Linked DNA regions of Homo sapiens: all the other regions are linked to region 4. Evidence: promoter capture Hi-C in human tissues and cell types (Jung and others, 2019). All regions are on one chromosome and are shown on one strand. The core of a region is centred on a gene start or on the middle of the fragment in contact, and the rest is flanking DNA. Distances in the headings are between cores, read along the strand shown.

Region 1 (6,138 bases), core at 1,831-4,330, 260 kb after region 4:
ACAGGAGTTACAGTCTGCTAATCTGTATGTGAACAATGGCCCTGCTGCTATCCTTAGAGAGCTTTTCTGATGACTAAAGTCGAGACTCAGAATCCAGCCAAACTCCTGGCAAGTTTAATACACAGGAACTGCCTATTATCACTGCTTAAGTATCAATCCTCTAACAACCAAAGGAGGCTATATTAGTTTCTTTCTGCTATTGTAACAAATTACCACACATTTAGTAACTTAAGGTAACACAAATTTATGATCTTTCCGTTCTGGAAGTCAGAAGTCCAAAACGGCTTTCACTGGGCTAAAATGGAGTTATTGGCCGGGTTGTGCTCCCTCCAGAAGCTCTAAGGAATCCACCATATCCTTGCCCTTTCCATCTTCTAGAAGCTGCCCCAATTCCTTGGCTCGCAGCTCCTTCCTCCATCTGCAAAGCTCATCACTCCAACCTCTGCTTCTGTCATCACATCCTCTCCCATGTCTCTGACCCTCCCACCACAATCTTATAAAAGGACCCTTGTGAGTACATTTAGAATCCACTCAGACAATCCAGGATAATCTCCCCACAGCAAGATCCTTAATTTACTCTCATCTGAAGGTCCCTTTTGCCATACAAGGTGCCCCATTCACAAATTCTGGAGATTAGGATGCAGATATCTTTGTGGGGGAAGTCATTATCCAGATTGCTACAGGGTCTAAAGCCCCAGGCAGGTCCCAACAAGAACTAGACCTTGCCCTCTCTCTCTGCTTCTTTTTTTCTCTTTACTATATGTAATTTCCCCCCTTTTACCACCCAAGTCCATTATTTTTTGTTTAATTTTTTTGAGACAGGGTCTCACTCAGGCAGGAGTGCAGTGGTACCGTCATAGCTCACTGTAATCTCAAATTACTGGGCTCAGGCAATCCTCCCACCTCAGCCTTCCGAGTAACAGGACTACAGGCATGAATCCTGTATATACAACCATGCCTGGCTAAATGTTTTTAAATTTTTTATAGTGACAGGGTCCCGCCATGTTGCCCAGGATGGTCTCAAATTCCTGGGCTCAAATAATCCTCCCACCTTGGCCTCCCAAAGCACTGGGATTACAAATGTGAACCCCCATCCCTGGCCCCCACGACCATTATAACAGAGGTTCTACTCTGCACAACTGGCATTTATTATCAATTTCAAGCTCAGCTCTTAAAAGTTACTGAATTATCTTCATATAGATTTTTAAATCCTTCCAGTAAAAGCTTTTTACAAATGGAAGCTGACCAATTCCCTGACCAAATGAAAGACCAACTGAAAGACCAAATGAACAGTTCTTGTCCAACTTTATACTCACTCAGTACTTGTAGTCTACTGAGTTTCCAGCACCAGAGACAAGGCAAGAAAGTACGGTCTCCCTGGAAGTCAGAATCTATGTGAAGAGAGATCCTACCAAACAGTGATGAATATACATGAAATATCACTCTGAGGTCGGGCATGGTAGCTCACGCCTGTAATCCCAGCACTTTGGGAAGCTGAGGCGGGTGGATTACCTGAGGTCAGGAGTTCAGGACCAGCCTGGCCAGCATGGTGAAACCCCGTCTCTACTAAAAAAATACAAAAAATTAGCCGGGCATAGTGGCAGGCGCTTGTAATGCCAGCTACTCGGGAGGCTGAGACAGGAGAATTGCTTGAACCCGGGAGGTGGAGGTTGCAGTGAGCCAAGACCACACCATTGCACTCCAGCCTGGGCAACAAGGGCAAAACTCCGTCTCAAAAAAAAAAAAAGAAAAGAAAAAGAAATATCACTCTGAGATGGTGGGGTTATAGAACAGATGCTAAGTGGGTGGGAGATCAAAAAAGGACATCAGCACTAACTGAAGTGATCGAGGATGGTTCACACAAGAGAAACAACATGAGCTCAGCCTTGAAGCACGACCTGGGTACAGACTGACTAGTCACTCAGCATGAGCAGAGGCATGCATGGCGTGACCAGTGTGTGAGGAGGAAGATAAGGATACCTGCTGAATAAAACTCCAGGAGCTATTCAGGAAATGAGAGAAACAATAGAAAAAATAGAAGGTTTTGAAATCCAGTTGTTTTGTTACAAGGCAATTAGAATCACTGTAGGTTTACTGACAGGGATCTCATAATCAAAGATTTCAGGGATATAAATCTAGAAATAGTACCTGAGGTGGCTAATAACAAGTGAGAATTTCCTCATCAACTTGGGCTGGAATTTTACGAGAAAGGGGCCGGACTGTGAGAGTGATGATGGAAGCTGAATGACGTAACTAACATTTCAGAGGAAGAAAATCTTGGGAGTTAGAAGAGAGATTACTTCTTGGAGAGGAAAGAGCTCGAAGTCAAGATGACTTCTCAATCTCCAGCTTAGGGGACATGCAGAAATGCACCTCAGGAAGATGGGAGAACATCTAGAAAGTAGAGACAAGATTACTGGTTCTATCGGCTGTGATCAAGGAGACAGGTGAGATGCTTTGTAAAATGGGAGAAGTGTAAGGACAGAGGTGCTGGAATTGCAGGGCTCTGGATGGTAACTAAGAATGGGCAGCACTGAAGGTAGAAGAATTAAAGCTCCTGGAATTCATGAGCTCTTAGGGGAAAGTTTCCAATCTGAATGGAAAACAACTGGAGAGATTCTCCACAAAAGTCCCCTCCATTAGAGTGGGTGGAAGATAATCCAACTTCAGGACTCAAGAAGAGGCTGTGGCACATTGCCAAAAATAATAAGATAAAGACAATGTGTATAATCTCCTATTGTTGAAAACATGAAAAATAACTACAAATTCCTACATGCTTGTAGCTGCATAAAGAAACTCTGTTATGCATGTAACAGAAATTACTAAAAGTGATTACCTGAGGCAGAATGTCAGTGAAAATGGCCAAGTAAAGACATGTAAAATTTCACCACTCTGTAAAACCAACTAAAAAACTGGCAAAACTGTCAGAAGGCAATTTTTCAAAATTCTGTAAATTAACCAAAGCCTAGGCCAGGCGCAGTGGCTCATGCCTGTAATCCCAGCACTTTGGGAGGCTGAGGCGGACGGATCACGAGGTCAGGAGATCAAGACCATCCTGGCTAACATGGTGAAACCCCAACTCTACTAAAAATACATAAAAATTAGCCAGGCGTGGTGTCGGGCGCCTGTAGTCCCACCTACTAGGGGGGCTGAGGCAGCAGAATGGCGTGACCCTGGGAGGCGGAGCTTGCAGTGAGCTGAGATCATGCCACTGCACTTGAGCCTGGGCGACAGAGCGAGACTCCATCTCAGAACAAAAACAAAAACAACAACAACAACAAAAACACAAAAAAACAAAATTAACCAAAGCCTTGCAGCAACCAGGAAAACATGTATTCTAGAAAAGTAAATTTTAATAAGAACAGTAAGCTATATGGTGTTCTAACTTACCCCGGTCCCATCTCTGGCTCAGTAACAGCCTTGGAAAAATGACAGCCCCCACTTCTGGTACTTCAGTGAGCAGAACAAAGCTGGAGCTTTTTCAAAGCCTCATTCTCAAAGAACACTCATTACTAGACCTGCCTAGTGGCTCCCTGGAAGACTCCACTGGAAAAGCTGGTCTTTATTTTGCCTGACAGAGAACTCTCATAGTGTTACAAAACCTCTAGGGAGGAGGTACTTTTCTAACATTTACAGGCAATGTTTTAAAGTCACCACTGCCTGAGGTGATGGCAAACAGGTGGGGCCCAAAACACACGAGTCAAAAAGATAGAATGAAAGAGCTGAGGAATGAGATGTCTATAGGGACTCTGAGAAGCTCCAACCTAGAAGGCTACATGCATACCCATAATAATTAAACTAGGGCCAGGGGTGGTGGCTCACGCCTGTAATCCCAGCACTTTGGGAGGGCGAGGTGGGTGGATCATGAGGTCAAGAGATTGAGACCACCCTGGCTAACACGGTGAAACCTGCCTCTACTAAAAATACAAAAAAAAAAAAATTAGCTGGGCGTGGTGGCGGGCCCCTGTAATCCTAGCTACACAGGAGGCTGAGGCAGGACAATCGCTTGAACCCAGGAGGCAGAGGCTGCAGTGAGCCAAGATCGCGCCACTGCACTCCAGCCTGGGCGACAGAGCAAGAGTCTGTCTCAATAAATAAATAAATAAAATAAAATAAAAGCCGAAGAGAGAATCCTGAAAGCAGAGAGAAGAAATTCATCACGTACAAGGGATCTTCAATAAGATTAACAGCTTGTTTCTCAGAAACGACTCAGGCCAGAAAGAAAGACAAAAAAACATGACAATCAAGAATTCTATACCCAGTAAAATTATCCTTCAAAAATGAAGGAGAAATCAAGAGATTTCCAGATAAACAAAACGCCACAGTTCACTGTTAGCAAACCTGTCCGACAGGAAATGCTGGCTGGGGATAGTGACTCACGCCTGTAATCCCAGCACTTTGAGAGGCTGAGGCAGGGGCATCACTTGAGCTCAGGAGTTTAAGACCAGCCTAGGCAACACAGTGAGGCGTGGTTGTGTGCACCTATAGTCCCAGCTACTCAGGAGGCTGAGATGGGAGGATCACTTGAGCCTAGAAGGTTGAGACTCCAGTAAGCCAAGATCATGCCACTGCACTCCAGCCTGGGCAACAGAGTGTCTTTTCTATCTCAAAAAACAAAATGGAAATGCTAAAATGAGTTCCTCAGGCTGAAATGAAAGAACATTCAACAGTAACTCAAAATAAAAAACAGCAATAAAGATAGCTACATAAGTATAAAAAGACAATATAAGTAAAATTCTTGTTTCTAGCTCCTTTTTTTCAGTCTGTTAAAAGACAACTGCATAAAGCAATAATTATAAATCCATATTCATGAACACACAATGTATAAAGATGTAATTTGTGACAAAACAGCATAAAAGGAGGAGGGCAGAGCTATACACAAAGTTTTGGTATACTATTAATATTACACTAGTATTAATCCAAACTACATTGTCATAAATTAAGATGTTAATTGTAGGGCCAGGCGTGGTGGCTCACACCTATAATCTCAGCACTTTGGGAGGCCAAGGCAGGAGGATTGCTTGTGCACAGGAGTTCAAGACTAGCCTGGGCAATATAGTGAGACCTTGTCTCTACAAAAAAAAATTTTTTTTTAATTAACTGAGCATGACGGTGCATGGCTGTAGTCCCAGCTACCTAGGAGGCTGAGGTGGGAGGACTGCCTAAGCTTGCAATGCAGAGGCTGCAGTAAGTCAAGATTGTACTACTGCACTCCAGCCTGGGCAGAAGAGCAAGACCTTGTCTCAAAAGATGTTAATTGTAATCCCCAGGGCAACTACCAAGAAAATAACTCAAGATTTTATAGTAAAAGAAAAGTAGTTACCTGTGTGTATGCCTCTGTGTATCTGTGTTTTGGGGGAATAACAGTAATGTGAGTAACAGCAGGGAGTAAAAATGAGTTATTTTTGGTGGTGTTTTTCAGACAGGGTCTTGCTCTGTCACTCGGGCTGGAGTGCAGTGGTGAAATCACAGCTCACTACAGCCTCAACATCCCAGGCTCAAGCAATCCTCACCTCAGCCCCCTGAGTAGCTAGGACCACAGACATGCACCATAAAGCCCAGCTAAGTTTTTTAATAAAGGAGATTTTTTTTTTAGCTTATACATTTTAAGTAGCTTTCAGATATTTGAACATTACCTATATTTTAAAAATCTATTTTGTTTGGTACCCACAAGATCTAAGTAAGAAAGAACAAAAGCCCAAGCCGGGAACGGTGGCTCATGCCTGTAATCCCAGCACTTTGGGAGCCCGAGGTGGGCGGATCACTTGAGGTCAGGAGTTCGAGACCAGCCCAGCCAACATGGTGAAACCCCGTCTCTACTAAAAATACAAAAACTAGCCAGGCATGGTGGCGGGTGCCTGTAATCCCAGCTACTCAGGAGGCTGAGGTGGGAGAATCGCTTGAACCCGGGAGGCAGAGGTTGCAGTGAGCCGAGATCGCACCACTGCACTCCAGCCTGGGCGACAGAGCGAGACTTTATTTCAAAACAAACAAACTAAAAAGCCCAAAAAGACTATTTTTTTGAAATAAGCATCTATAGCTATAGGTTACAAGTTTGGCAATACAGGAAATAAGGAAAATATTTGAAGTAGCTACATGGATAAGAGGTAACCTTAGAGGCAACCTTAGAGGAAGGGA
Region 2 (6,217 bases), core at 961-3,460, 310 kb after region 4:
ATGGTAAAACCCCGTCTCTACTAAAAATACAAAAAAATTAGCTGAATGTGGTGGTGGGCACCTGTAATCTCAGCTACTCTGGAGGCTTAGGCAGGAGAATCACTTGAACCCGAGAGGTGGAGGTTGCAGTGAGCCAAGATCACGCCTTTGCACTCCAGCCTGGGCAACAAGAGCAAGACTCTTTTTAAAAAAAACAAAACAAACAAACAAAAAAAAACTGAAACCTCTGCTAGACACCAGGCTGCCTCCCAATGGATCTAGAGTTACCAGGTGGCCTATGATGGTGTCTAGATCCAGACTCTAGAGACAGACTAAGTCAGTGTTCTCTCAAGGGAGATTTCCCAAATGGGTGGCAGTTATAAATGCACACATGAGCCTTCACTGCCCCAAAGGGCCACGCCAATTTCAGCTACCAAGAAAATGAACCATGTCATTACAAGTGCCTAATTTTCAAGAAGGAGAATAATAAGCCCTTAGCACCCTAATTTGGTTTTCCCATAGTGGTTTCTGCACAAAGTGGCATTCACACACAACATTCCAGGGACCAGCCGCCAGCAGCAAAGATGCGGAGACACGGCTCTGATTATCCAGCTGAGGCAGCCCCTCCCCTCCCTGCCACTCCTGGGACTCTTAATCTCCAGGCCTCGTTTTATTTTATTCTAGGTATTTATATTTCCATGAAGCATCTGCTTTGTTTACTGGTGTTTGCCCCATGAACATGGGCTTCCAAGGGACTAAAGCCCTATCAGTCCCTCTCACTGATGTGCTCCCACCCCAGTGTCCAGAACAGTGCCTGGTACACATAGGCCCTCAATAAACAGCTGTCCAGCAGATGCTGGACCCCCTGGAGGTGGGTCCTCCTCTCTTTTCTTAGCTCACACTCTCCTGCTTCTTCTTCAGCAATGAGCAGCTTCAGCTATCCTGAGCTCAGTCCCAGAGCTGAGGACCCTCCTTGCATCATGATCTCACCCCCACCTGATTTCAGATACAAAACGAGTATCTGTGGAACCCTACTATTCTGGCACATGGTTACATTGTAGACATTAATATTAAAACTTATTTATATGAAATGTTCTTATGTAAGGTTTCGTTAAAGTATATGAAATATAGGACACATTGATACTAATTCCTTGTTTTTCTTTTTCTTTCTTTCTTTTTTTTTTTTTTTTTTTTTTTTTGAGACAGAGTCTCACTCTGTTGCCCAGGCAAGGCTGGAGTGCGTTGGCAGGTCTCGGCTCACTGCAACCTCGGCTTCCCCAGTTCCAGCGATTCTCCTACCTCAGCCTCCCGAGTAGCTGGGATTACAGGCACGCACCACCATGCCTGGCTAATTTTTGTATTTTTAGTAGAGACGGGGTTTCACCATGTTGGCCAGGCTGGTCTGAAACACCCGACCTCAGGTGATCCGCCTGCCTCGGCCTCCCGAGTTCTGGGATTACAGGCGTGAGCTATCGCGCCCGGCCTCCTTGTTTTTCTTGAGTTTACATATAACTGAGGTTTCTTTTTTCTTTCTTTTTTTTGGGGGTGGGGGGACGGAGTCTCGCTCTGTCACCCACGCTGGAAAACTGGAGTGCAATGGAGCAATCTCGGCTCACTGCAACCTCCGCCTCCCCGGTTCCAGTGATTCTCCTGTCTCAGCCTCCTGAGAAACTGGGATTACAGGCATGCGCCACCACGCCCAGGTAATTTTTGTATTTTTAGTAGAGACGGGGGTTTCACCATATTGGTCAGGCTGGTCTCGAACTCATGACCTCGTGATCCGCCTGCCTTGGCCTCCCAAAGTGCTGGGATTACAGGCGTGTCACCGCGCCCGGCCGACGTCCTGTATTTTTATTTGCTAAGAGTGGCGATCCTAGTCTGGGACATACTTGTACTAAACATATTTATATTAAAAACAATGTTTTAACATACTACTCTTGGACACTGTATAAAACGGTTGCGTGTCTGGAATGCCGTCGTTTTGCCCCGCGGCCCCATCGTACATGCGCATCCCCGCAGCCGCCACCGTCTCCACTTTCCGCAGCAGCGTCCCTGACGCTGCGCGACCCGTTGCCAAGGCGACTGGAACCGCGGCCCGAGGTAACTGGAGGGCACGGCGGGGGCGGGGCGCTCATCCCAGGCGGCTTCTGATTGGCCTCGGCCGCCTCGTGCGTCACAGCCCCGCCCCTGCCCGGGAGTCCCGCAGCGGTGACTTGTCACCGACGCCCGGCGTGATCCAGCGGACCAATGGCGGCCGCCCGCGGCGCGCAGGGTGCGGGGATGGGGTCCGCCCGCGGCGTTGGGCGCGCTCGCCAGCCCAGGGGTCGCCATGACCGAGTGGCCCAGGCCCGAGCGAAGCCCGCGCGCGGTGAGTCCGCCGCGGCCCATCCGTCCCTCCGCCCGCCAGAGCGTCCATCGGGACGCCCACCCGGGAGGGTCTCGGCGCCGCGTCGGCGGGAGCTGGCCCGGGATCGCGGTCCAGGGGCGCGCGTCGGGGGAGGCGGGCCCGGGCCCGGGAGGGGGCGGGCCGGGCCGGGGTTCCAGAGCCCATCGGGAGTCCTGAGGTCGCCGTAGGGGAGGGAAGGGGAAGGCTAGAGGCCACGCGGGGCGGGGACTGGGGGGGCTGGGGCCGCCCCTTCCGCAGGGACCCCGACCCCTGTTGGCATCCGCCTGTCCGTTTGAGGCCGAAGCCCCTCTACGTACCCCCATTGCCCGCCCAAACACCGCTCGGCCGCGTCCAAGTTCTCCCTTCCACACCTGATCAGCATCCCGGGACCTATCTCCCTCCTGAACAGCCGCCCCCGGACCCATCTCCCTCCCTACCCGGCCCCTTGGGCCCATCCCCCACTGGAACAGCAGCCCCCGACCCGTCTCTCTCCCTACAAGCTCCCCCTCCCCGCCCCAGGCCCATCTCCCTCCTGAACAGCCGCCCCCGACCCATCCCCCACCCAATCACCCCACCATCCTCCCCCCAACCAGCCGTCCACAGCCGTCGTCGCTGCCCCTCCCCTGTATTCCCAGTGCGCTGCCCTTGCACACTTCCCCAGCTCGTTTATTATGGAACTCCTCCGTGTGGCATCCTAAGCTCCCAACGCCCTCCCCACTGTAAGCCCCCTTCTCAAAGCCAGAACCATTCACTGACTGGCGCAGTGAACACGTCTTCTATGTCACTAAGCATCCGGCATCAGCGGCAAAGCCCTTCTGCCCATCCCCGCAATAGAATTTGGGGCTCGGGCTGCAGATCTCAGTGCCCATGCCAGGTGAACCTGGCCCTTCCACAGGCACTGAGCCCTCCAAGTGACACTCTCTCACACACACACATCCCCAACATTAATCAGAGACCCCTACCAAAGTAGACTTCTAGGACCCCAGGGCCACCACAGCATTGCCCATGGGGGGGCCCAGATCCTCCTCACCAGCCATGTAGACCTCAGTCCCCTTCACATCATCCCAGGCCCTCTTCATCTTCCAGAAACAGCCACCCATCAGTCCAGGACTCTCATCAGCTCAGGTACCCCCACATTGGCCTAGGTGTTCCACATCAGCCCCCATATAGACCCCAGACACACCCATGGACCTCTGGTGCCTTCTGCTAAGACCTCCTCTTTACCCTCATCCCTGATAAACTTAGCATCTCCTCCCACAGACCTCAGCCCAGGACCCTGGAGGATGCTGAGGGGCTACAGCCCCCCTCCCTAGAGTCTCCAGGGTGAGCTGCCATGAGCACCTGAGAGAGTATAAGGTCTGAGGCCCCAGGGCAAAGGGATTTCTTGAACCTGTGGAGCTTCAAAATAGGCCCTTTTTTCTTATTCAAAACTACATATATAAAAGTGTGAATACAACATAAGAGAGCATTTTTGCCTGTGGCCTTGGCAGGGAAGACCAAGCTGGTAGTTTCCCAATCAGGGTGCAGGTGGCCGGGTACGCTGACTCGAAGATGGCTGGCTGGGCACAGTCCCCGTGAGTTGCCTTTCTGCCACCCTGCACCTCTCCTTTCTCCTGGATTGTAAAACCAGATGCACGAGAACTGCAGAGTGTATGAAAAATGCAGCAGAGGATGAAGAGGGAAAAATCCCATGGAATCCCTCCTTTTCACTTGTCATAAGCATTTCCCATATGGTCAAAAATCCTTCCTAAAGATGTCTTGTTTTGTTTTGTTTTTCCATGTTGATGAAGGTCACATGGGAGCCCGACACCATTTGGAGGAGATTCAGAGAAGTATGAACAGCACAAAGCACTTGGCCGCCCCCCATGGGCGTCTTCCCAGGACTCCCTTTCTATGACACTCACGCATCATCCTGCATCCCACGTTCCCTGTGCCTCATGTCATCTGTACATCATGTGTCTACTCCCCGTGGTCATGTCATAGTGTTGTGTACTGGGCACGGTTGAATACTCCCATCACATGATGGGGGAGGTAGTTGATCCCACCACGTTCAACTGTTGGGCACTTTTGTAGTGAATCTTGGTGCCTGAATCTCGCATCTTGCACGCAGTCTACCAAGTGTTCTTGATATATAAATGGCCACAGTGCTTTCCAGAAAGGTCGTGCCAATTTATATTCTCACCAGCGGATCAGTCCAGAGTACAATTGTTAAAGACAAACAAACGAAACCTCCCTGCTTATTTTTATTTTTACAACTTTTAATGTTTTCTTCAGTTATATGTTCACCATAGTCGGCTTGGAAAATGTACAAAAGGTAACTTCTTTTTTTTCTTTTCTTTTTTTTTTTTTTTTTTGAGACAGAGTCTTACTCTGTCGCTCAGGCTGGAGTGCAGTGGCACAGTCTCAGCTCACTGCAATCTCCGCCTCCTGGGTTCAAGCATTTCTCCTGTCTCAGCCTCCCGAGTAGCTGGGATTACAGGTGCGTGCCACCACGCCCAACTCATTTTTGGTTATTTATTTTTTTTGGGATGGAATCTCACGCTGTCACTCAGGCTGGAGTACAGTGGTGCGATCTTGGCTTACTGCAACCTCTGTTTCCTGGGTTGGAGCAATTCTCCTGCCTCAGCCTCCCACGTAGCTGGGATTAGAGGTGTGCACCACCACGCCGGCTAATTTTTGTATTTTTAGTAGACGGGGTTTCGCCATGTCGGTCAGGCTGGTCTTGAACTGCTGACTTCAGGTGATCCACCCACCCGGGCCTCCCAAAGTGCTGGGATTACAGGTGTGAGCCACGGCACCCGGCCACAAAAGGTTATTTTAAAATTACTCTTCCCACTTTCCCTCTCTTTTCAGAGTCTCCAGTCTCCCTTGCCCTCTTCCTGGTCTCCACCCCCAGCTTGGACCTGGTAGGAAAGTCAGGAAGACAGCAAAGATAACACCATGGGTAGACCTGCTGCTGGTGGTGGTGTCATCCATTATTATGTAGCCCACCTGGCTGCTTCCATTTAAATGGAATTTAAATTTAAAATTCAGTTCCTATTTCAGGTGCTCCTAGCCACACGTAGGTGGTTGCATGGGTAGAGAATCTTTACATCCCTGTAGGAACTTCACTGGGCAGTGCTGGCCACACCACGGGGCAGGCATTCTTGTTCCCGCAGCTCGTCAGTCAATGTGTGTTGAATGACTAAATGAGAGGGAGATAGACACTAAGTAAGGGGAAAAGTTGTGTTCAGAAAGTCATGGAGGTTATGAAGACAGTGCCATAAGGATGATGGCCAGGACATCTGCGAGGGGAGGAGCTGGGGTGGGAAGGGGAGGGGCTGGGGTGGGATGGCAGGTGCAAAGGTCCTGGGGCAGCCAGTGGCTTGAACTCAGTGCAAAGTAGCCTGTGAGAGGCATGTGGAAGATTAGGTCAGAAGGTGGGAAGAGGTCAGGTTGGTTCCTTGGGGTGCTGGAGGTCAGAACAAGGAAGTAAGGAGCCGAGGGGCATCCTGAGTACAGAGGGCCACCATCTGATGTGACCCCTCTGTCCCTGCCCCTCTCTGCAGGCCCCTGATTGCTGATTCTGTCCGCCTGCCACACCGGCTCTGTCCGGAGCCACTGGGACTCGGGATCCAGTCCACACACACCCCTCAGAGGGGCACTGTGGCCAGAGAAATGCTTCCACGGCCCAAAGCCCCTGCCTCCCCCAGACGCCCCCAGACCCCAACCCCGAGTGAGCAGGACGCAGACCCTGGGCCAGCAAGCCCCAGGGACACCGAAGCCCAGCGTCTGCGCTTCCGGCAGTTCCAGTACCACGTGGCGAGCGGGCCGCACCTCGCGCTGGGCCAGCTCTGGACGCTGTGCCGCCAG
Region 3 (6,763 bases), core at 1-2,500, 360 kb before region 4:
GTAAGATCTTCCCATCGTTGCCCATTTCTCACGGTTTCCCTCTTCCTTCAGGGTCCCCTGGCGATGGCAGAAATGAACCCTGCACAGGTGAGTGGAGTGTTTTCTACCTTTCACCTACCAGTTATCTCATAGATGGTTTTGGCACCTCCATGTAAAGAAAAGTGGTGTCCAGAGACTCTCTTTCTGTCTTTCTCCCTCTCTTATGTCTGAAAAGTGAGTGATTCCACCAGTTCTAGTATCTTAAATTAGGTCTGGGATTTTTGTTTGATTGTTTTAAGTTTACTGTGACACCTTACCTGGATGGCCCTGGATTATGTGGAGTGGCTCCCATTTTTGACAGTTGACGTGGTAACATCTGTCAGAGTGTCATGGGCACAAGATTAAGAATGTTTCAGTGTTTAGAGGAGAGACTGAACTGGATTTTTAGGGAACTGCAAGTGTCTGTTATATCGGATAGGAATAGGGAGCAGAGTGGGAGGTGGCTAGAGACACACAAACATCAGGCCTGGAATGACAGCCTAGGTCCTGGGTCTCTAATCTAAGGGAGGTGGTAGATGGGGAAGATTTGAAGCAGAAGAGGGCAGTGATAGGACCCTAGCTTAAGGAACTTTCTTTGGCGTCTGAGTGGAGGACAGACTGTGGAGGTGAGGGTAATGGCAGGGAGATCTGAGAGGATGTTCCTGCAGCAGTCTAGGTGGATGTTGGTGGTGACTTGTCAAGAGTAGCGGTGGCTTCAGGATGTGTTTTGAACTGGAGCTGCCCACATTTTATGATGTAGAGAGTGAGGCAGCTGGGGGGGTGGGATAGAAGGGGAATCAGGAGTGGCCCCATGGTTTTTGTTTGGAAGCATAGATGCTCCATCAGCTAAGATGGGAGAAGTCAGCAGTATTAGGAATTTTCAGAGTGAGTGTGAGGAGTCAGTGTTTGTTCAAGCCACAGATGTCTCAGAGACTCCTGGTGGAGGAGTTCAGGTTGGAGACGTCCACACTATGGTGGCTGTCGTATGGACCAGGATGAAGCCATGGATTCAGTTTAGGTGACAGCATCTCTAGGTTATGGTGGCAGTGCTGTTCGAAGACAGAGAATTGGAATGGGGCATGAGAACTGGGTCTCTTACTGGGTAGCTGTGCAGTGGTGGAGGAGTCACTAGACAAATGAGGGAATGGAGTGTTTGTGGGGATGAGTGTATGTGAGATGGTGGGGTATAGGAGTGAGAAAGACTTCTGAAGGAGAGTGGACATGATGGGGTTGCTGAGGAGGGTAATAGGGTGAGGTCGGAGAGTTGCTAAGCATCAGTTGGAATGAGATGAGGATGGGAATTCTATTAGTCTGTTTTCATATTGCTACAAAGAACTACCTGAGACTGGGTACTTTATGAAGAAAAGAAGTTTAATTGACTCACAGTTCTTTTTTTTTTTTTTTTTTTTTTTTGAGATGTGGCCCAGGCTGGAGTGCAGTGGCACAATCTCGGCTCACTGCAATCTCTCCCTGCCAGGTTCAAGCGATTCTTCTGCCTCAGCCTCCTGAATAGCTGGGACGACAGACTCACCCCACTACGCCCAGCTAATTTTTGTATTTTTAGTAGAGATGGGCTTTCACCATGTTGGCCAGGATGGTCTTGATCTCCTGACCTCGTGATCCATCCTCCTCAGCCTCCCAAAGTGTTGGGATTACAGGCGTGAGCCACCGCACCCAGCCCATAGTTCTTCAGGCTTAACAGGAAGCATAACTCGGAGGCCTCAGGAAACTTACAATCCTGTGTCCATGAGGCAGGACACAGCTGAGAGTATGTGAAGTCCTCACATGGTTTGGGCACCTGACAGTGAAGTGAGAAACAGGGCCATGTAGGGAACCTTCAACCCAGGGCTTAGGGCTGCCCCCGGTGCTAGGGAACTTTGGTGTTCTGGGGCAGGACTGGGAGTGAATTGGATGCTGAGCGTATTTGCCGTGCACCACCTGGTTTCTGTGTGCAGAGTGGCCTGTTAGGAGGTGAAGGAAATGCCTGTGGTGTGGGCTGGGAGGTGTCTGTGGAATTGACTGGAGTGGAGGTGTGAGAGATGGGATTGGAGTGCTGTCCAAAGAGTGATGTGCAGGCAGGAGGAGTGTGAATGGAGGGCCTCAGGCCCTGGCCCTGGTAGCTCAAGGGAGGAGGATGAGTCTGAGTTTGGTTGTCTTGGGAGGCAAGATCTGGGTGACTCCATGGAAACTGGCTGGCAGGAGAGGATGGATCCCCCCACGGGAGGCCCACATTCCTTTTCTACCTTATCTTCCATCTGTTTCCTCTGTGTGCTGGACACGGTGGCCAATGTCAATATGGAGAGAAAAGTCACTCATGCCACCTGGATGTGGTTTCTCTTCCACATTGGGAGGGTGTAGAGATTGAGGAAGGAAAGGAGGTGTAGGGGAGAGGGATGAGTTCCTGGAGAGAGAAAAGTAGCAGTGATTGTACCCATTGGGGTTTTTTGTTTTTTTTTTTTTAGATGGAGTCTTGCTGTGTTGTCACCCAGGCTGGAGTGCAGTGGCATGATCTTGGCTCACTGCAACCTGCACCTCCTGGATTCAAGCAGTTCTGCCTCAATCTCCCAAGTAGCTAGGACTACAGGCATGTGCCGCCATGCCCACCTAATTTTTGTATTTTTAGTAGAGATGGGATTTCACTGTGTTGGCCAGGCTGGTCTTGAACTCCTGACCTCAGGTGATCTGCCCGCCTCAGCCTCCCAAAGTGCTGGGATTATAGGCATGAGCCACTGTGCCTGGCCCCCATGGAGTTTTAATTTATGGATGTGAGTGAGTGATGCCAGGGACAGGCCAATGACACTGAAAGAAGATATTTATTCCTTACGTTTCCCTAAGGAGGTTACATACCACATAACACAGGGCCACACGGTGAAACACCAGATTTGATCAGGAGGAAAATTGGAGTGAGTTTAGTTTAGTCCACAGATGCTGTTGGGGTTTCCAAGGGAAACAAGGCAGGGCTGGCTGTCAGGATAGTTTGGCTAGTTTTAGTAATTCCAGGACACCTGGGCTATTGGGACTGTCCCTAGTTGTGCAGTACCTGTCCCTGGGTTGATTTAGAGCATGGGAAATACTGACTTGGTTTGAGAAAGTTAGAGATGGAGATGGTTAAGAATATGTGCCCAGGATGGTAGGGGAGATGGAAACACATTTAGCTGTTAGTTTGTCCCTGTGTTTAATGGGTGGTAAATATAAGTAGAAAATAAATAGAGAACTTAAGTAAATACAGTTTGAAAAGCTGCTCATGTATTCATCTTTCCCAATTTGGCAGGGTCATGTGGTTTTTGAAGACGTGGCCATATATTTCTCCCAGGAGGAGTGGGGGCATCTCGATGAGGCTCAGAGATTGCTGTACCGTGATGTGATGCTGGAGAATTTGGCCCTTTTGTCCTCACTAGGTAAGGCCCTCACACTTGCCCAGTGTCCTGGGTTGGGCTGTGTTGTCTCCTTTTACCTGAAGGCAGCTCTGCGTTTCCCACAGTGAGACCATGGGTGCTGCTTCTTTTCCTTGTTTCCTGACATATGTTCCATGAGAGTCAGGACTGCAATATGTGCTGTGTGCTTCCTTTTTCCTGGCAGCCCCATCCTCTGCTGTTCTGAGGCTTGCAAGAAAGGGCTCAGGATCCAGAAATGTTGAAGGTGACATAGAGACCCACTGGCCCTGTGTTCTATTCAAATGCATGAGACCTCTGTGCTCTGTTGTTCCCTTGCTCTTGCCAATATTTCTTGGTCCCTTCTTGTTCCTGGAATTTCTGGCACTGACCTGATCACTAATTTGGTGAACCACTGGCTTGATTGTGTAGGATGTAGAAATCTTCTGTGAAGTTCTGGTGATTATCGAATGTGAGATATCATCAGGTGATCTCTCTGGGAATGTGCTGTCTTGTCTCTTTCTGTGTCTTTCCCCTAGGACTGGTCTCTTTCAGGTCTCACAGACTGTCACCTTAAGCAATGGGGAGGGCCCTGGTACCCAAGAGGGTGGATATTACTCCCTGAAGGGCTGTAGAGACTCAGAGGGACATGATCCTGGTTCCTGGGAGTTGGGAAAAGGTGTAATATCACAGCTGGGGTCATATTACTAGGAATCTGTCTGGTGACCCCTGTTGTTTAGTTGAAGACTGGTTGCCACAACTCACTCTTCTTTTCCTTCCCCCGTTGTCATTTTTACTCTGACTTCTAATCCCTGGCTTCCAGCCGTTACCTATTTTCTTCAACTGCTCCCTCTGCAGTGCCATCCACTGCATGACCTGTACTTAAGGTGAGGTCTGCATGTATTTGTCAGTAGTCCCTGAACACCATCTCCTCTGTCACAATCAGATCTCTCTGGGTTTAGACACAGCCTTCTACACACTGCTCACTAGTCACCAGCAGCCATGGCCTGTGGAAAGCCATTTGCAGAGAAGTGACTTGGAGACCCTCCTCCTCTCTGCACTGTACCCCTCTCTTGTGTTCTTACCCATCATCAGGGCTCTCCCATTATGGGTATTTGCCAGGTCCAACTCTGCACAGCAGGCCTTCTTCTCATTGGCCTTAGTGTTTGTATTACTTCATTCTCACTCTGCTATTAGGAAATACCCAAGACTGGGTAATTTCTAAAGGAAAGAGGTTAATTGACTCACAGGTCCCCATTGCTGGGGAGGCCTCAGGAAACTTACAGTCATGGCGGAAGGCAAAGGAGAACTAGGCATCTTCTTCACAGGGCGGCAAGACAAATGAGTCCAAGCAGGGAAAATGCCAGACACATAAAACCAGCAAATTTCATGAGAATTTACTCAGTTTCATGAGAACGGCATGGGGGAAACTGTTCCCATGATTCAGTTCTGTCCACCTGGTCCCACCCTTGACACGTGGGGATTATGGGGATTACAATTCAAGATGAGATTTGGGTGGGGACAGAGAGCCTAACCATATTATTCCACCCCGGCCCCCCCCACCCAATTTTATGTCCCTTCCACATTTCAACACCAATCATGCCTTCCTAACAGTCCTCCAAACTCTTAATTCACTCTAGCATTAACCCAAAAGTCCAAGTCCAAAGTCTCATCTGAGATGAGGCAAGTCCCTTCTGCCTATGAGCCTGTAAAATCAAAAGCAAGTTAGTTACTTCTAAGATATAATGGGGATAGAGGCACTGGATAAATGTACCTATTCCTAATGGAAGAAATGGGCCAAAACAAAGCCTACAGGCCCCATGCAAGTCCAAAACCCAGCGAGGCAGTCATTAAATCTTAATGCTCTGAAATGATATCCTCTGACTCCATCTCTCACATCCAGGGCACAGTGATGCAATAGGTGGGCTCCCACTGTCTTGGGCAACTCTGCCCCTGTGGCTTTGCAGGGTACAGACCCCCCCTCAGCTGCTTTCATGGGCTGGCATTGAGTGTCTCTGGCTTTTTCAGGCACACGTTGCAAGCTGTTGGTGGATCTACCATTCTGGGGACTGGAGGACGTGGCCTTCTTCTCATAGCTCCACTAGGTAGTACCCCAGTAGGGAGTCTGTGTGGGGGCTCCGACCCCACATTTCCCTTCCTGCAGTGCCCTAGCAGAGGTTCTCCGTGAGTTCCACCCCTGCAGCAAACCTCTGCCTGGACATCAGGCATTTCCATACCTCCTCTGAAATCTAGGTGGAGGTTCCCTCCCAAATATCAGTTCATGACTTCTTTGCACCCACAGGCCCAACACCATGTGCAAGCCACCAAGGCTTGGGGCTTAAACTCTGAAGCAATGGCTGGAGCTGTACCTTGCCCCTTTTAGCCATGGCTGGAGTTGAAGCAGCTGGGATGCAGGGCGCCATGTCCCGAGGCTGCATAGAGCAGGGGGACCCAGGGCCAGCAGCTGGGATGCAGGGCTCCATGTCCTGAGGCTGCACTGAACAGCCTGGGCCAGGCCCACAAAACCATTTTTCCCTCCTAGGCCTCTGGGCCTGTGATGGGAGGGGCTGCCGGGAAGGTCTCTGACAGGCACTGGAGACATTTTCCCCATCACCTTCGTGGTTAACATTCCACTCCTCGTTACTTATGCAAATTTCTGCAGCAGCCTTGAATTTCTCCCCAGAAAACGGGTTTTTCTTTTCTATTGCATAGCCAGGCTGCAAATTTTCCAAACTTTTCTGCCTTGCTTCCTCTTGAACACTTTAGCACTTAGACATTTCTTCTGCCAGATACCCTAAATCATCTCTCTCAAGTTCAAAGTTCCACAGATATGTAGGGCAGGGGCAAGAAGCTGCCATTCTCTTTGCTAAAGCATAGCAAGAGTCACCTTTACTCCAGTCCCCAACAAGTTCCTCATCTCCATCTAAGACCACCACAGCCTGGGCTTCATGGCCCATATTGCTAAATCAGCATTTTGATCAAAACCATTCATCAAGTCTCTAGGAAGTTCCAAACTTTCCCACATTTCCTGTCTTCTGCTGAGCCCTCCAAACTGTTCCAGCCTCTGCCTGTTACCCAGTTCCAAAGTCACTTCCACATTTTCGGGTATCCTTACAGCAGTATTTCACTACCTCAGTACCAGTTTACTATATTTGTCCGTTCTCACACTGCTATTAAGAAATACCCTGGCTGGGCACAGTGGCTCACTCCTGTAATCCCAGCACTTTGGGAGGCTGGGGCAGGTGGATCATCTGAGGTAGGAGTTTGAGACCAGCCTGGCCAATATGGTGAAACCCCATCTCTACTAAAAATACAAAAATTAGCCGGGTATGGTGGCAGGTGCCTGTAATCCTAGCTACTCGGGAGGCTGAAGC
Region 4 (6,895 bases), core at 1,484-3,983:
CTCAGCTGCATCATGAAAACGGAAGAAACTGGAACACATTCAACACCCTCAACACATTCCAGCTACATCAAAAGAGTCTGGTTCCTACCTTCTGGCCTTAGGATAATGACAGAATGTAGTACATCCTAAGTTCCAGAGAGTTACCAAAAACAGAGACAGCATTCTGGACAAACACAAAGATTAGAGAAGCACCTTAAATCTTTGGCCAGATGGATTCGTGAGATCCTTCTACTACACTAGGCAAGACTGGGAGAAGTAGTGAACTTTTTTTTTTTTTTGAAATGGGGTCTCAGCCAAGCATGATGACTCACACCTGTAATCCCAGCACTTTGGGAGGCCGAGGCGGGTGGATCTCCTGAGGGCAGGAGTTCGAGACCAGCCTGGCCAACATCGTGAAACCCCGTCTCTACCAAAAATACAAACAAATTAGCTGGGCGTGGTGGCGGGTGCCTGTAATTCCAGCTACTCAGGAGGCAGACAAGAGAATTGCTTGAACCCAGAAGGCAGAGGTTGCGGTGAGCCGAGATTGTGCCACTGCACTCCAGCCTAGGAAACGTGGTGAAACCCCGTCTCTACTAAAAATGGAAAAATTAGCGGGGTGTGGTGGTGGGCACCTGTAATCCCAGCTACTCGGGAGGCTGAGGTAGGAGAACTGCTTGAACCCAGGAGACAGGTTGCAGTGAGCCGAGATCGCGCCACTGCACTCCAGCCTGGGTGACAAGAGCAAGACTCCATCTCAAAAAAACAAAACAAAACAAAACCTGGCCAAGGCATGGTGGCTCACTCTTGTAATCCCAGCACTTTGGGAGGCCGAAGGGAGTGGATCAACTGAGGTCACGAGTTTGAGACCAGCCTGGCCAACATGGTGAAACTCTATCTAATAAAATACAAAAATTAGCTGGGCATGGTGATGCATGCCTGTAATCCCAGCTACTGGGAAAACTGAGGCAGGAGAATCACTTGAATCTGGGAGGCAGAAGCTGCAGTGAGCCAAGATCGCACCATTGCACTCCAGCCTGGGTGACAGAGCGAGACTCGTCTCCAAAAAAAAAATAAATAAATAAAATAAAACCAAAGCCAAGTGCAGTGGCTCACAACTGTAATCCAAACACTTTGGAAGGCTGGGGCCGGTGGATCAGTTGAGGTCGGGAGTTCAAGACCACCTGGGCCAACACGGTGAACGTCCCCCCCACTCCCCCGCCCCCACCCCACCCCTCCCACCTCCCCACCCCACCCCACCCCTCCCACCTCCCCACCCCCGTCTCTACTATAAATACTAAAATTAGCCAGGGGTGGTTGTGGGCACCTGTAATCTCAACTACTTGGGAGGCTGAGGCGGGAGAATCTCTTGAACCCGGGAGGTAGAGGTTGCAATAAGCCACTGCATCCCACCCTGGGCGACAGAGTGAGACTTCGTCTCAAAAAAAATAAAAAAAATAAATAAACTAAAACTAAAAGAAAACACACAAAATGAGGGTGAGATAATCAGATAGTAGCAATAGCACACCACCCATCGTTGCCATCCCAGGCCAAACTCCTCATACCCTACAGCTCTCTCCTCCTGCAAACACTGAAAAGAACCCTTTCAAATGGCAGGACCCTTCTCTTCTGGGGGGAGTCTCAAGAATGCCCACTCCCTCTTCCCTGCCCTGCAGTCCCAGCCTTCTCATCTCTTACCCCAGAGATATGAAATAACATACTTAAGACTGCCCCACTTAAATCTGACCTCCTGGCCTTGACCTACTCCAGACCGCTCCCTTCACCCCAAAGATATTCTAAGCCCAGCCCCTTCCCCACAACTTCAGACCTTCCTCTCTAGTTGCCTAAGTGAGGAAGCCTCCACTCTGAGACATCTCAAAGTCACCATTCCAAAATCCAAACGTTCATGGAAAAACAACAAAAACACCTTGCTCTTTCATGCCTTACTTTCAGTCATAGCTGCATATGATGGAGCAGAAAATCCTGTTGGTTTCAAATTTAAAACCTACCCAGAATATGATCACTTCTACCCACTCACCTGCCATTACTCTTGGTACATCCACCACCAAAGCATTCCTGGAATCCACTGCAGTAGCCTCCTTACCGGTCTCCTCGTATCCATCCTCGCAGTCCCCACCCCAAACTAATGTTCTCCCCTGAGCAAATTTCGAGACACTTAAAATCCCAGCTAAGATCACGTCCTTCTATTCAAAACCCTCAGTTAATCTCAACGCCCTCAGAATGAAGCGACAACTTCTCAGCCTGCCATTCCAGTCACAGTTCCTCAAACTCTGCTCTGTGTTGATGAGAACCCTGTCTCCCAAATGTTTGGGGGTCAGCAGCACCCCCGAGCCTTTACCTGCGCCGTCCCCTCCGCCCGTAACTCTCCCACACCCACCCACACCGAGATAGGACCCCGCCCCAAGAGTGCGTCGCTGTCCTGGGACACAGGGGCTGCAGGCACTTTACGATTCGGAGTCGGAGAAAGGGTGACTGAGGGCCCGGAGGACGCAGCACCCACCCGCGCGGAGTCCGTTAGCTCCGCCATAGGACCGTGGGCGCGGACAGCTGCCGGGAGCGGCAGGCGTCTCGATCGGGGACGCAGGCACTTCCGTCCCTGCAGAGCATCAGACGCGTCTCGGGACACTGGGGACAACATCTCCTCCGCGCTTTCCCAACACCTCCACCTGCGGCCCACACAAGCGTTACAGAACCCCGGCCAGGGACAGCCTGACAGAAACAAAATGTCCGCTACAAGGAGGAGCCGGAAGTCCCGCCCACGCACCCCCCGCAGGCACTGAAACACCCCTCTCCTGGGCCCTCATTGGGTATGCAACGTATAGGTTTGTGGGTAGAGTGTGGTTCCCACTGAGCTATCCTTCAAGGCAGGGGATTCTCGGCCTGGGCTCTTGGGAAAACTCGAAGTAGGAGGGCCAAGTTGTTTGGGAAAAGTAACCCGAGTTTCAAAGGGCTGACAGGACTTCCGTCCTCTTTTTTTTTTTTTTTTTTTTTTTTGAGACAGAGTCTCGCTCTGTCTCCCAGGCTGCAGTGCAGTGGCGCGATCTCGGCTGACTGCAACCTCCGCCTCCCGGGTTCAAGCGATTCTCCTGCCTCAGCCTCCCAAGTAATTGGGACTACAGGGGCCCGCCACCACGCCAGGCTAATTTTAGTACTTTTAGCAGAGTACGGGATTTCACCATGTTGGCCAGGCTGGTCTCGAACTCCTGACTTTGTGATTTGCCTGCTTCGGCCTCCCAAAGTGCTGGGATTACAGGAGTGAGCCATGGTGCCCGGCTGACTTCTGTCCTCTTAAAAGGCCTGGACCTAGATTCCCTGGAGTGTAGTATGCACCGATCGCAGAAATGTTGAGACATTTCAGATGTTCCCCAAAGCTGCAAAACTAAATAGATACACCACACCACAATGTCTCTTTGCGTACACTCACAGCTAGAAGCTAATAACTATTACCTTGTTGCTTTTTAAATATGTGTGCACTCAAGCTTTACAGTAACTTTTGTGAGCTTCAGTTTGGTCAGAGACGGAAGAGAAAATATTCCAAACAAGGCCTTGGAGTGGAAGAAGGAAGAGGGATGATGTGGAGTCTCCCTGAAACCAGTGGACAGATTTCTTCAGAAAACTCTTCCTGCCTGGGTAATCAGTGATGTCTCCATCACAGCAAAACACAGTGCAATTACCATTTAACCTGTCATTGTCATTGTAAGTATGGTGTCTGTGTTAGGAGGTGAGATTATCCCCGGGGGAAAAATCCTGACAGCTATTAATAATGATTCCGTAGTTATTTGAAGATAATGAAAGAAATTGCTCTAAGGAAATATCTGTGATAGATGGACAAAGTTAAGATCTCAGTAAAGTTTGAGCCTGAATACTAAAGTATAAGTGAAAGAATGAAGTTAAGCATATGGTTGTGTTGTGATCTTGACCACACTTTGTCAACAAAATGTGACTCTTTTTTCCTGAAAATGCTGAGCAATTGTAAAGAAGATATCAGAATGGTAAAAATCAACAGTGAAGTTGTGCTGTCTTGATAATTCACTGTTAAAATACACATCCAAGGAACACATACGAGCTCTCAGTAGGTGTTTTTCAAATGTGTTAGTAGCATGAAAGACATCACTAATAAAATTTCCAAGATTCCTATACATACAGGACATGTCCTGCATATAATGATTTTTGTCCTGCATCACCTTTTGACTTTGTCACAATACCCTAAATAAATATTCTAAAGAAGGCAACAGTCTTAAAGAAAAGAATTTTCAACCCGGAATTTCATATCCAGCCAAACTAAGCTTCATAAGTGAAGGAGAAATAAAATACTTTACAGACAAGCAAATGCTGAGAGATTTTGTCACCACCAGGCCTGCCCTAAAAGAGCTCCTGAAGGAAGCACTAAACATGGAAAGGAACAACTGGTACCAGCCACTGCAAAAACATGCCAAATTGTAAAGACCATCAAGGCTAGGAAGAAACTGCATCAACTAATGAGCAAAATAACCAGCTAACATCATAATGACAGGATCAAATTCACACATAACAATACTAACCTTAAATGTAAATGGGCTCAATGCTCCAATTAAAAGGCACAGACTGGCAAATTGGATAAACAGTCAAGACCCATCTGTGTGCTGTATTCAGGAAACCCATCTCACATGCAGAGACACACATAGGCTCAAAATAAAGGGATGGAGGAAGATCTACCAAGCAAATGGAAAACAAAAAAAGGCAGGGGTTGCAATACTACTCTCGGATAAAACAGACTTTAAACCAACAAAGATCAAAAGAGACAAAGAAGGCCATTACATAATGGTAAAGGGATCAATTCAACAAGAAGAACTAACTATCCTAAATATATATGCACCCAATACGGGAGCACCCAGATTCATAAAGCGAGTCCTTAGTGACCTACAAAGAGACTTAAACTCCCACACAATAATAATGGGAGACTTTAACACCCCACTGTCAACATTAGACGGATCAACAAGACAGAAAGTTAACAAGGATATCGAGGAATTGAACTCAGCTCTGCACCAAGCGGACCTAATAGACATCTACAGAACTCTCCACCCCAAATCAACAGAATATACATTTTTTTTCAGCACCACACTACACCTATTCCAAAATTGACCACATAGTTGGAAGTAAAGCACTCCTCCGCAAATGTAAAAGAACAGAAATTATAACAAACTGTCTCTCAGACCACAGTGCAATCAAACTAGAACTCAGGATTAAGAAACTCATTCAAAACCACTTAACTACATGGAAACTGAACAACCTGCTCCTGAATGACTACTAGGTACATAACGAAATGAAGGCAGAAATAAAGATGTTCTTTGAAACCAACGATAACAAAGACACAACATACCACAATCCTGGGACACGTCCAAAGCAGTGTGTAGAGGGAAATTTATAGCACTAAATGCCCACCAGAGAAAGCAGGAAAGATCTAAAATTGACACCCTAACATCCAATTAAAAGAACTAGAGAAGCAAGAGCAAACACATTCAAAAGCTAGCAGAAGGCAAGAAATAACTAAGATCAGAGCAGAACTGAAGGAAATAGAGACACAAAAAACCCTTCAAAAAATCAATGAATCCAGGAGCTGGTTTTTTGAAAAGATCAACAAAATTGATAGACCACTAGCACGACTAATAAAGAAGAAAAGAGAGAAGAATCAAATAGATGCAATAAAAAAAGACAAAGGGGATAACAGCACCCATCCCACAGAAATACAAACTACCATCAGAGAATACTATAAACACCTCTACGCAAATAAACTAGAAAATCTAGAAGAAATGGACAAATTCCTCGACACATACACTCTCCCAAGACTAAACCAGGAAGAAGTTGAATCTCTGAATAGACCAGGCTCTGAAATTGAGGCAATAATTAATAGCTTACCAACCAAAAAAAGTCCAGGACCAGATGGATTCACAGCCGAATTCTACCAGAGGTACAAGGAGGAGCTGGTGCCATTCCTTCTGAAACTATTCCAATCAATAGAAAAAGAGGGAATCCTCCCTAACTCATTTTATGAGGCCAGCATCATCCTGATACCAAAGCCTGGCAGAGATGCAACAAAAAAAGAGAATTTTAGACCAATATCCTTGATTAACATTGATGCAAAAATCCTCAATAAAATACTGGCAAACCGAATCCAGCAACACATCAAAAAGCTTATCCACCATGATCAAGTGGGCTTCATCCCAGGGGTGCAAGGGTGGTTCAACATACGAAAATCAATAAACGTAATCCAGCATATAAACAGAACCAAAGACAAAAACCACAGGATTATCTCAATGGATGCAGAAAAGGCCTTTGACAGAATTCAACAACCCTTCATGCTAAAAACTCTCAATAAATTAGATATTGATGGTAACGTATCTCAAAATAATAAGAGCTATCTATGACAAACCCACAGCCAATATCATACTGAATGGACAAAAACTGGAAGCACTCCCTTTGAAAACTGGCACAAGACAGGGATGCCCTCTCTCACCACTCCTATTCAACATAGTGTTGGAAGTTCTGGCCAGGGCAATCAGGCAGGAGAAGGAAATAAAGGGCATTCAATCAGGAAAAGAGGAAGTCAAATTGTCCCTGTTTGCAGATGACATGATTGCATATCTAGAAAACCCCATCGTCTCAGCCCAAAATCTCCTTAAGCTGATAAGCAACTTCAACAAAGTCTCAGGATACAAAATCAATGTGCAAAAATCACAAGCATTCTTATGCACCAATAACAGACAAACAGAAAGCCAAATCATGAGTGAACTCCCATTCACAATTGCTTCAAAGAGAATAAAATACCTAGGAATCCAACTTACAAGGGATGTGAAGGACCTCTTCAAGGAGAGCTACAAACCACTGCTCAATGAAATAAAAGAGGATACAAACAAAT

What was found. Contacts are between HindIII fragments. The study calls those that stand out against the background at their distance.
Region 1: a fragment that was not itself captured here is called in contact with the fragment with the promoter of ZNF671 in region 4 in 1 of the 25 tissues and cell types used here (dorsolateral prefrontal cortex).
Region 2: a contact is called between the fragment with the promoter of ZSCAN1 here and the fragment with the promoter of ZNF671 in region 4, in 2 of the 25 tissues and cell types used here (adrenal gland and psoas muscle).
Region 3: a fragment that was not itself captured here is called in contact with the fragment with the promoter of ZNF671 in region 4 in 1 of the 25 tissues and cell types used here (dorsolateral prefrontal cortex).

The regions. Positions count from the first base shown.
Region 1 is chr19:57,981,845-57,987,982 of GRCh38, forward strand. All of the region lies in intron 6 of ZNF606 (zinc finger protein 606), which reads right to left. Among named protein-coding and RNA genes, the nearest start is that of C19orf18, 10 kb to the left of the region's middle. The HindIII fragment of the contact is 5,523 bases long and covers 320-5,842 here.
Region 2 is chr19:58,031,815-58,038,031 of GRCh38, forward strand. It overlaps ZSCAN1 (zinc finger and SCAN domain containing 1), which reads left to right and starts at 2,211. Exons shown (of 6, transcript NM_182572.4): 1 at 2,211-2,347; 2 at 4,156-4,197; 3 at 5,914-6,217. The coding sequence starts at 6,023. The HindIII fragment of the contact is 19,074 bases long and covers 1-6,217 here.
Region 3 is chr19:57,368,493-57,375,255 of GRCh38, forward strand. It overlaps ZNF547 (zinc finger protein 547), which reads left to right. Exons shown (of 4, transcript NM_173631.4): 2 at 52-87; 3 at 3,290-3,416. The coding sequence starts at 64. Among named protein-coding and RNA genes, the nearest start is that of ZNF547, 8.3 kb to the left of the region's middle. The HindIII fragment of the contact is 8,803 bases long and covers 1-5,652 here.
Region 4 is chr19:57,724,891-57,731,785 of GRCh38, forward strand. It overlaps ZNF671 (zinc finger protein 671), which reads right to left and starts at 2,734. Exons shown (of 4, transcript NM_024833.3): 1 at 2,501-2,734. The coding sequence starts at 2,638. RefSeq lists enhancers at 2,433-2,933, 2,451-2,890, 3,031-3,080 and a silencer at 2,887-3,112. The HindIII fragment of the contact is 7,784 bases long and covers 1-3,882 here.